3 separate regions of the Homo sapiens genome follow, and regions 1 and 3 are each linked to region 2. Evidence: promoter capture Hi-C in 16 types of primary human blood cells and fetal thymus (Javierre and others, 2016). All regions are on one chromosome and are shown on one strand. The core of a region is centred on a gene start or on the middle of the fragment in contact, and the rest is flanking DNA. Distances in the headings are between cores, read along the strand shown. Region 1 has its middle 42 kb from the start of MIR4472-2. Region 2 holds the start of MAP1LC3B2 (microtubule associated protein 1 light chain 3 beta 2). Region 3 has its middle 72 kb from the start of MIR4472-2.

Region 1 (3,438 bases), core at 286-2,785, 170 kb after region 2:
TTTCCTCTTTTTTGAGACAGGGTCTTGCTCTGTCACCCAGGCTGGAGTGCAGTGGTGTGATCATGGCTCACTGCAACCTCAACTTCCCAGGCTGAAGTGATCCTCCCACCTCATGAGGAGCTGGAATTACAGGTGCATGCTACCACGCCTGGCTATCTTTTTAATTCTTTTGTAGAGACAAGGTCTCCCTATGTTACCCAGGCTGGTCTTGAACTCCTAGGCTGACGTGATCCTCCCAGCTTGGCCTCCCAAAGTGCTGGGATTACAGGAGTGAGCCACCACGCCCCACCAGTTCATATAATTTCTTTAAAATAATAGTTGTGCCTTCCTGTTCTCAAAAATCCAATACCCTAGGAGACATAGGGAGCCAGGTTTAGCGGTAGAGGGGATGAATTTGCAGGTAACTAAAGAACAGTATAGTTGATTGGGAGGTTCAGGGCCTGCAGTGTGCAGTGGAACTGACCTGTACTCGCCCTGCTTCCCCAAACGGGTGACCTTGGTCAAGCACTCCCATTTCTCTGCTTCAGTGTGCTCATTCATAAAATAATCATCTGCTCGTCGGGTTAATGCCAGTTCTAAATGAGATGATCTGGGGAAAACTTTTAGCACAGAGCCTGGCATATAGTAACAGCTCAATAAATGGTGGCAGCCCTCATTAGTGATGTGATAATTGTGCTAATGGGGAAGCGTACACATTGCATCTGCATTGGGAGCCTGGCCAAGGTACAGATTAAGGTGCTGGGTTCAGGCCAAGCTCGAGGAAGCAAACGAGGGCTGCAGTTTACGCCGGAAAATTAGGTGGGTGTTGACTTGGGCAGATGGCAGCCCAGCCCTTAAAAAAAAAAAAAAAAGTCCGGAAATAGGAACATTGGATGCATGCCTCTCTCTCTAGGGTGGGAACAAGGGACAGGAGAGCAAATCAATGGGCTTAAAAAGTCAAAGCAGGTCAAGTGGGCCGGGTGTGGTGGCTCATGCCTGTAATCCCAGCTCCTTGGGAGGCCAAGGTGAGCGAATCACCTGAGGTCAGGAGTTCAAGACCAGCCTGGCCAATATGGTGAAACCCCGTCTCCACTAAACATACAAAAATTAGCCAGGCGTGGTGGCACATGCCTGTAACCGCACCTACTTGGGAGGCTGAGGAAAGAGAATCACCTGAACCCGGGAGGCGGAGGCTTCAGTGAGCCAAGATTGTGCCACTGCGCTCCAACCTGGGCAATAGAGTGAGACTCCATCTCAAAAAATAAAATAAGGCTGGGTGCCATGGTTCATGCCTGTAATCCCAACGCTTGGGGAGGCTGAGGCGGGCAGATCACCTGAGGCCAGGAGTTCAAGACCAGCGTGGCCAACATGGTGAAATCCCATCTCTACTAAAAATACAAAAATTAGATGGGCATGGTGGCATGTACATGTAATCTCAGCTACTCAGGAGACTGAGGCACAAGAATCATTTGAACCCTGGAGGCGGAGTTTTCAGGGAGCTGAGATCCGGCCACTGCACTCCAGCCTGGGCAACAGATTGAGGCTCTGTCTCAATAAAATAAAATAAAATAAAATGAATAAAATAAAATAAAATAAACCCAGGTCAACTGCTCCAAGGAACAGTCTGCCTTCACCTGTCAGCATTTGTGGAGGCTAGTGAAGCACATGCTGTTGTTGGCGTGGAGAATCATGAACTGATGGTGGTGGCTGTATGAACCGCTTCGTGGGCAGTGGATCCGACCAGAGCTGAACTTTAGAAAAGATCTGTTGCTTGGATAAGGAACAGATTCGGTTGCTCAACCCAACCTGCCCTTATCGCCAATGACCCAGCTCAACGTTCTCTCTGGTTTAGAGGAAAACAAACAGGACGTTAGGAAGTAACCAGATCAGATGGTCAGAGGTGGATCTAGGGGGAGCCGGGACACTCTCTAACGCTCCTCCAGCAGGAGATGTCCTGGGCGGTGCCTAGAGGAATGTGATGGCTTCACACATGTGGAAGAGCCTAGCGAGTGAGGCTCCCTGCAGCTATGGATGTCCACTGCAGCCTCATGTCCTGGCCTCGCCCTCCCAGTATGAGCTTGGAATTTTCTTAAACAAGAAATTTCCAGTGTTGGCCAGGCGCAGTCCCAGCACCTTTGGAGGCTGAGGCGGGTGGGTCACCTGAGGTCAGGAGTTCGAGACCAGCCTGGCTAACATGGTGAAATTCTGTCTGTACTAAAAAATACAAAAATTAGCTGGGCCTGGTGGCGTGTGCCTGTAGTTCCAGCTACTTAGGAGGCGGAAGCAGGAGAATCGCTTGAACCTGGGAGGCAGACATTGCAGTGAGCCAAGATCACGCCACCGCACTCCAGCCTGGGCAACAGAGTGCCTCAAAAAAAAAAAAAAAAAAAAAAAGAAAAAGAAAAAGAAAAGAAAGAAATTACCAGTGTTGTTAAGTCTCATACACCGAACTGGCTACTCAACTTGGCTGGCCACCTTTGATCAGCTCCCAGATGCAGCCATTACTCACTTTGCAACCCACGAACTTCCTCTTTCTAAGCTGCCAAAAAAAAAAAAAAGATAATAATAAGCTAACATTACTGAGTGCCGGGTACTTTATGTGGACACTCTTCATTTAATCCCACAACCACCTATGAGGTCAGTTTTATTCTATAATCCCCATTTTATAGATGAGAAAACTGAGCTCAAGTAAAAGAATAGACCCATACATGGTCACCCAGCTATTAAGTGACTGAAGTCAGTATTCAAGCCCAGGTCTGTGTGACTCTGCACCTACCAGCTGCCAATGGACCCCAAATACCCTCTGTTCCTCTGATAAATTACCCCTGGGGTGGGGCCAGGAATAGGGCCAGGCAAACCAGGTGCAATTTTTAAGGAGGCGCTCATTCTCAGGTTCACGCAAGTCACGACCCTGAACATCATGCATGGCCCTGAGAACAAGTGCCTCCTTAAATTTTGCTCCCAGGCCGGCAGCCCCAGCAGTGCCTCTAGGTAAATACTCAGCCTCCCAGAGGGCAGGTGTAGTAGCTCACTGCCCACTGCAAGATCAGGGCAGCTCCCAGACAGGAAGAATGTTCTGGTCAGCTGTGACCAGAGGTCCTTTGCTTCTTTGTCTCATAACCACCTGGCTCTCCAGATTGAGGGGTGGGGGAGGGGTTGGGAGACACTCCAGTGGAATTCTCAGCAACCCTTCCCTGATGTGGACTCTAAGCCTAGGGGAAGATGTCTGAGACAGTGGGTCCCATCTCCCAGACCCCTTGCCACAGCTTCCTTGCCGGTCTGTTTGCCGCTTTCTGAGGAAGCCAACACTTGCCTTTATTCCTCTCTTTGACCACAGCTCTCCCCTGCAGAAATGTCCCTTCTCTGTGAACTCGGTGGTCCAGGGTCCAGGTGCTGGAATCACACAGACCTGGGCTGGAATCCTGGCTTCACTTCCAACCAACTGTGTGATTTTTAGGC
Region 2 (3,782 bases), core at 1,282-3,781:
GGGAAAAACAATAGCCTTACTACACTTGTGTAAAGCACTGGACAATAAGAAGCACAGAGTCCAGCCTCGTTCAAGAACAGCTTTGCATGTACTTGCTCCATCCTTACAACAACTGTGTAAGGGAAGTTTTCTAATTATCTCCATTGGACAGATGAGGAGACAGAGGCCCAGGGAGGGTAAATACCTTACCCCAGGCCACACAGCTAGTAAGGGGCAGAACCAGGATCCAGCTGCCTCAGTGAATGGCTAATGGCTGCTGGTTAATGAGGTCACACTCCTGGCCTGTGGCCAAGACTTATCTACAACCAGGGACCCTCGACTCCTCCCTTAGTCTCGGGAGTCCTCAAGGCCCCATCCTGCTTCCTGATCGTTATGAAGTCTGGGGAAAGGGAAACTCGGTGTCCACGCAAACAAGATGCTGTGAATGTTTTCAGCCCAGACAAGGGGAAGGAGATGGCCAGGGGAGGACCTGGTAAACAGAAGCCTGGGGTGGCTCTGTTAGTTTCTTATGAGTGCCCTAATATCCTTGGTTTGTAGCTGCAAAACTCCAATCCTCACTTCCAAGTTCCTCTGGGACTTCCTCTCTGTGTGTCTAATCTACCCATCTACCTCTGCCACACTTTTTTTTTTTTATTTTGAGACAGGGTCTCACTTGGTCACCCAGGCTGGAGTACAGTGGTGCCATCATAGCTCACTGCAGCCTCGAACTTCTGGGCTCAAGAGATCCTCCTGTCTCAGCCTCACAAGTAGCTGGGACCACAGGCACACACCACTGTCCCCCACAGCTTTTTTTCTGAGATGGAGTCGTGCTCTGTTGCCCAAGCTGGAGTACAGTGGCACAATCTCAGCTCACTGCAACCTCTGCTTCCCGGATTCAAGTGATTCTTGTGTCTCAGCCTCCCAAGTAGCGGGGACTACAGGCATACACTACCATGCCCAGCTAATTTTTGTAGTTTTAGTAGAGATGGGGTTAAGCCATATTGGGCAAGCTGGTCTTGAACTCCTGGCCTCAAGTGACCTGCCCACCTTGGACTCCCAAGGTGCTGGGATTAGAGGTGTAAGCCACTATGCCCAGCCTTTTTTTTTTTTTAAACTATTTGTAGAAACAGGGTCTCCCTATGTTGCCCAAGCTGGATCTGCCTTCCTTTTATAAGGATACCTGTCATTGGATTTGAGGTCCACCCAGGTAGTCTAGGATGATTCAATCTTGAGATCCTAAAATTAATTTACACCTGCAAAGATCCTTTCTCCATTAAGGTCACATTCACAGGTGCTGCAGCACATTAGACTGTGGACATATCTTTTCTTTTTTTGGTGGAGGTGTGACTGGGGAGACACTATTAAACCCACTACAGTGTAAAAGTAGGCCAGATGTGATGGTTCACACCTGTAATCCCAAGACTTTGGGAGGCCGAGGTGGGCGGATCACTTGAGGTCAGGAGTTCGAGACCAGCCTGGCCAACATGGCGAAACCTCGTCTCTACTAAAAATACAAAAATTAGCTGGGCGTGGTGGCGCACCTGTAATCCCAGCTAGTCGGAAGGCTGAGGCAGGAGAATCACTTGAACCCAGGAGGCAGAGGTTGCAGCGAGCCGAGAGCGCGCCACTGCATTCCAGCCTGGGCGACAGAGGAAGACTCTATCTAAATATATATATATACATATACATACATATATATATATATATATATATATATATATATATATATATATATATATATATAGCCAAACTTAGCTTTATTTCAGAGCCGTTGCTGGGCCTGGGAGTGGAGAGAGATCAGGAGAGCGCCACCAGCTTGGATCGGTTAGTGAGCTGCGGTGGTTTTTGTTTTTGTTTTTTTTTTCTTGACAGTGTCTCCTATTGTTTTGTATTTCTCTTTTGTTTTGAGGTTTTCTGCCATCTTTTCTGGAAGGTGCATGATGCTCAGCTCTGTGGTTATTTTTGCCCAACAGCTGTGTTTCCGGTGAGCGGCTGTGGGATTCTTCTGACTCAGCAAAACTGGAGCAGTAACCGTCAAGAAGCCATTCAAGCAAGGCTAGAAATAAAGAAGCTGTTTCTTCACCGTCCCCTCCTCCTCCTCTCACTTCCCTCCCCATGGGTACCTTTTGAAAGTCTCACAAAGCACTTTGAAAAAACTACTTGGACCAGTATGCTGGAGGGTTGACTGAAGGTGGCCCCTCCGCTGGGCTTTAAGCAAACAGATAAATTCTGGAAAGGACTCTGCCCTGCCAGCCTGGCTGTGGCCTTCGGAAGGCCCCTCCCAACATGCCCCCACCCGCCGATCACATGGACTGTGTCTTACAAGTTTCCCACAGGTCTGACTAGTGAAAGCAGAGGCTGTGGGGACTTTTGTGGTTTTTCTAGGGTGTGGCCCCACTTTGCCTTCACCAGGCCTGAGTATCTATGCCGTGCAGCTTGCCTGCTTCTCAAAGGTCATGATTTCCACCCTGGGGCTGGGAGGCAGCTACATATTCCTACCCGCTGGCACAGGATCTGGCCCTGCACTCCCGAGAGGTGGCTGCGAGCCTTGCGGAGGCAGAGAGAGAACAAAATGGAAAGGAATCTTCCTCCCGGAGAGCCATCTTCTGTGCATGCCGGTGCCTGCAAAAGACAGGCGAGGCGAGACAGCTGCACCTCGGGCCTCGTCGCTGTTGCTGAGAAAGAAAGGAACAAATAAATTTAGCTCCATCCTACGCATCCTTTGCAGCTGCTGATTGACCAAACAGAAAGAGGCCTCTATTTCAACCCTGGCTTCTCAGCTTTTTGCCTGATGGGGTCTGCTATCGCCCTTTACAAGGGACTTTTGAAGGAGGAAACGGGCCGTGGCCTTATTTAGCGCCTGGCCGGCTGGAGGCTGCACAGACAGGAGTTCAAGTTTAGGGTGTCTCTTCTTGCCCATCCCAAAGCAAAATGGTGGCCCGGAAACGTTTCCAAATGGGCTTCGGCTCCTGGAATTTCCAATGTATTTATTTGGAAGCCAGAACATGGTGGGTGGAGAGATGTGTAACTGTGCCGAGGCCAGCCTATAGCTCCCGAAGCCATTAGTTTAATAGCACCATTTGTGGAAATAAAGAACTCGCTGACTGGGCTTGAAGGTAAAAGACTGGAACGAAGCACTGAGGGGGTTTCGTGGGGCTCACTAGCGTGGAGAGGTCCCTGCGGGATGGGGGACAAGCTGTGTGGACTTTGAGTCAGATAGACTTGGGTTCCAGTCCTAGCTCTATCACCTAAAGGCACGTTGTCTCTGGACAAAGAGAGCCTTTGCTCTGTGATATGTAAGTGAAATGCTAGCTGTGACACTGAACCTCTCTGAGCCTCAGTTCCTTATCTGTAAAACAGCAATGATGACACGAGGTCGTCACAAGGATTAAATGACAAAGAATACTGAACCTACATAGCCCAGCTCTTGCTGTGCCATGATGGTGTAGAGTGGCCCCTGTTTGACCTGCCCAGGCCCATTCTCCAAAGAAGCTGTACAGGTGAGGTGGCTCACCCCTGTAATCCCAGTACTTTGGGAGGCCGAGAAGGGAGGATCACTTGAGCCCAGGAGTTTGAGGCCAGCCTGGGCAACATAGAGAGACCCCATCTCTGCAAAAAAATAAAAAAAATTAGCTGGGTGTGGCGGTGCACGCCTGTGGTCCCAGCTACACAGGAGGCTAAGGTGGGAGGATCCCTTGAGCCCAAGAGGTCCAGGCTGCAGCCTGGGTGACAGAGCAAGACCCTGTCTCTAAAAAAAAAAAAAAAAAAAAAAAATAGAAGGTGTTTCTTCCCCAATCCTCTCC
Region 3 (3,526 bases), core at 382-2,881, 200 kb after region 2:
TTCACCAATCCAGGTGAGCGTCATGTCATCCACTGAGAGCTCAAATAGAAAAAGGTTTAGGAAGCATGAATTTGCTGTCTGCTTGAGCTGGAACATCACCTTCTCTTGCCCTCAGGCATCAGCACTCCTGGTTTGGGGGACTTAGGATTCAGACTGGGACCTATGCCATTGGTTTCCCTGGTTCTCAGGCCTCTGGGCTTCATTGGACTGGAACTATACTACCAGTTTTCCTGGGTCTTCAGCTTGCAGATGGCAGATTGTGGAACTTCTCAGTCTTCATAATTGTGTGAGCCAATCCCCCATAATAAATCTCTTTCTCTATATCTACACATTTCCTATTGGTTCTGTTTCTCTGGAGAACCCTGAGTAATACAGCCTATAATAGACCAAGCGCCCCAGACGCTGGCGCTGCTATCCCAATTCTGCAGCTCTCGGCCAGCAACTGAGCACGTCAGAGACACTAAGGCAGCCTGTTCATGGGAGGTGCAGGGCTCCTCCAATGGTGACTTGAGCTTGAGAATTCTCCAAGGGCCTTCCCAAACCTTCCTTAGACTGCATGGGAGTCCAGGACACTCCCACCCAAATTTCTTCTTTTTAAAAAAAAATTTTTTTTACCCATCATAAACTAGATCCTACCCAACTTTCCCTTCCCTTCCCTCCCCTCGCCTCCCCTCCCCTCTCCTCCCCTTCCCTTCCCTCTTTCTTTTTTATAAGACAGTCTCACTCTGACACCCAGGCTGGAGTGCAGTGGCATGATCTCAGCTCACTGCAACCTCTGCCTCCAAGGTTCAAGCAATTCTCCTGCCTCAGCCTCCCGAGTGGCTGGGATGACAGACCTGTGCCACCACACCTGGCCGATTTTTGTATTTTTAGTAGAGACGGGGGTTTCTCCATGTTGGCCAGGCTGGTCTCGAACTCCTGGCCTCAAGTGATCCACTCACCTCGGCCTCCCAAAGTGCTGGGATTACAGGTGTGAGCCACTGTTCCAGGCCCCCACCCAACTTCCTTTCCTCTCCCCTTCATTTGGGATTGTGTGGCCCTCCTCACTTTCTCTGTCTCCCTCCCTGCTTCTCCCACAGACCTTTCTTCTAATAAATCCTTTCTGCTTTAAATTTATTTTTAGTCTCTGCTTCTAGGAGAACCATGGCTAACACAAAAGATTTTGACAAAGAAATAAACAACATACCAAGTATTATAAAGATCATATTTTTGGACCTTCTTTCATTTATTTATTTGGAGACAGAGTCTCACTCTATGGCCCAGGCTGAAGTGCAGTGGCACAATCACAACTCACTGCAGCCTCCACCCGCTGGGCTCAATCAATCCTCCCACCTCAGCCTCCCGAATAGTTGGAACTACAGGCATGTGACACCACGTCTGGCTAATTTTTGTATTTTTTGTAGAGGCGGGGTCTCGCCCTGTTGCCAGGCTGGTCTCAAAATCCTTAGCTCAAGTGATCGGCCCTCTTGGCCTCCCAAGGTGCTAGGATTACAGGCGTGAGCCACTGTGACCAGCCTTGGACCTTCCTTGATGGATAAGCCTGTCTCTTGCCTTGTGCCTTGTCCAGCTTGTGTTCTGAGGGAATGCCACCTCCAGAAAGCGAGTATATGGTACAGGGGAGCCCAATCAGACAGGAAGAGGAAGGAAAAGCACTTTCTTGAGGACGTTCGGCATCATTTTCATAAAATGATTATGTTCTCTTCTCCAGTAAGCCTCATCTATTCATTAAAATGACCCCTCCACCACTCCTGACACTACTTCCTTTGCTATTATACTTTTGTCCAAGTAATTAAATAATTAATTACTTGGATAATTAATTCATAGTAATTAAATAATTCTTTCCAAATACATTCTTTTTTTTTTTTTTTTTTTTTTGAGATGGAGTCTCGCTCTGTTACCCAGGCTGGAGTGCAATGGTACCATCTTGGCTCACTGCAACCTCCGCCTCCCGGGTTCAAGAAATTCTCCTGCCTCAGTCTCCCAAGTAGCTGAGATTACAGATCCCACCACCACAACCGGCGAATTTTGTATTTTTATTAGAGACGGGGTTTCACCATGTTGGCCAGGCTGGTCTTGAACTCCTGACCTCAGGTGATCCGCCCGCCTCAGCCTCCCAAAGTGCTGGAATTGCAGGCATGAGCCATCACACCTGGCCAAAATAAATTCTTTAAAAAAATGTTTGTAAAGTATATGTAATATCTTTGAACAAATAAATTCTATCATTTGGACAGAATGACAAAGTCTTTCAGATTTTCTCTTCTCCCACAGTCCAAAAGGGTGAGGTCATTTTTCTGGGTATCATACCCTGAGTGTGGGCTGTGAGCAGTGATGGGGGAGGAGAAGGGAACGAACCTTCATGTTAATTCGTGTCATCTGCTTTCCTCTCGACTCTGATGCTGCCTTGCTCCAGGACCTCTTTGCTATCTGCGTCTTGATTTTTCACCTTATCCCATGGAGATGACGGCTTCCTTCTAATTTTTTCTTAGAATCAGGGAGTTCTTCGAAAGTCCTTTCCACATTATCTTGGGTGAGACTTTGCAGTCATGGTGTGTTCAGTAATTCCTCCAACTCTCCTGTGCGGTAGGAACAGGGCATTCACTTTGGAGCAATCCTTCTCCTTTCAAGTGGTGAGGTTTGATAAGGTCTTCCTCTGTGCCGAGGTAGCTGCGGAGAGTGCCTGGCTGGCCGTCCATAGTTGATTATCAGCTCAGCTCGTGTGGCACTTATGATTGGTAAAGACAGGGGAAGACCTGGGCTATCAGTGCCTCTTCCCCCACAAACCCCTGCCAACCCCTGACCCCCTAGTCAGAGGAGGAAGTAGGTCTGGTTTCCCGAGAGGAAACTCAGGGACAACAATCCCCTAGGCCTTCTAGTCGGAAACCATTTGGCATCTGACGTCGATTTCATCTTCCTTATTCTGTTTCTGACTTTGCCTTGCTGGGAGGTGCTGTGCTGGTTCATAGAGCTCAGGTACTTCTGTTCTGGCTTTAACTTGCTACATTGCACTTGCTGTTTACATGTGTGTCTCTCCAGTGGGGTTCAGTGTAATGACTGCTTACGTTCAGGTCACCATTTAATCTCTAGTGCCCAGCACAGTGCTGGACATGCAGTTAGTATTTAATCAATGTTTGATGAATGACAGTTGCCAAGAGAGATCAGGGGAACCTGGTGTTAAGGTTCCAAGCTGATTCATCGGTATGAACATCCTGCTCTATTTCCTGAAGTCAGATAGACCCAGGAGAGAGAAGGCTACAAGATGCCATGGATATAGGGTCCTGGATTTGGCCAATGTTAATCAAAAGCAGCTATGGGTGATGTACTCAAAGAAATTGCCGTGAACCGTCATCGAGGAGCAAAGGCAGAGCCCAGTGACAGGATTGTGGGTTAGGAAGTGAGGTGTGACCCATTGTCCAGGAGGGAACCATGAGATCACAGCCAATGGTGTGGAATCATAAATCAGTCCGGGGGTTAATATAGGGGTGGGAGCCAAGATACCTAGAAGGCAGTAGGAACAAAATCCAAGCTA

What was found. The method cuts DNA at HindIII sites, captures the fragments that hold promoters and counts their contacts. A CHiCAGO score of 5 or more calls a contact.
Region 1: a contact is called between a fragment that was not itself captured here and the fragment with the promoter of MAP1LC3B2 in region 2, in 3 of 17 cell types (neutrophils, monocytes and naive B cells). The highest score is 6.5, in neutrophils.
Region 3: a contact is called between a fragment that was not itself captured here and the fragment with the promoter of MAP1LC3B2 in region 2, in 7 of 17 cell types (total B cells, monocytes, fetal thymus and 4 more). The highest score is 7.8, in total B cells.

Annotation. Positions count from the first base shown.
Region 1 is chr12:116,384,376-116,387,813 of GRCh38, reverse strand. No RefSeq gene overlaps it. Among named protein-coding and RNA genes, the nearest start is that of MIR4472-2, 42 kb to the left of the region's middle. The HindIII fragment of the contact is 6,952 bases long and covers 1-3,438 here.
Region 2 is chr12:116,558,130-116,561,911 of GRCh38, reverse strand. MAP1LC3B2 (microtubule associated protein 1 light chain 3 beta 2) reads right to left here and starts at 2,531. Exons shown (of 2, transcript NM_001085481.3): 1 at 2,479-2,531. RefSeq lists a silencer at 154-448 and enhancers at 154-448, 1,938-2,037, 2,078-2,127, 2,348-2,687, 2,527-3,036. The HindIII fragment of the contact is 18,876 bases long and covers 1-3,782 here.
Region 3 is chr12:116,354,379-116,357,904 of GRCh38, reverse strand. No RefSeq gene overlaps it. Among named protein-coding and RNA genes, the nearest start is that of MIR4472-2, 72 kb to the left of the region's middle. The HindIII fragment of the contact is 6,012 bases long and covers 1-3,526 here.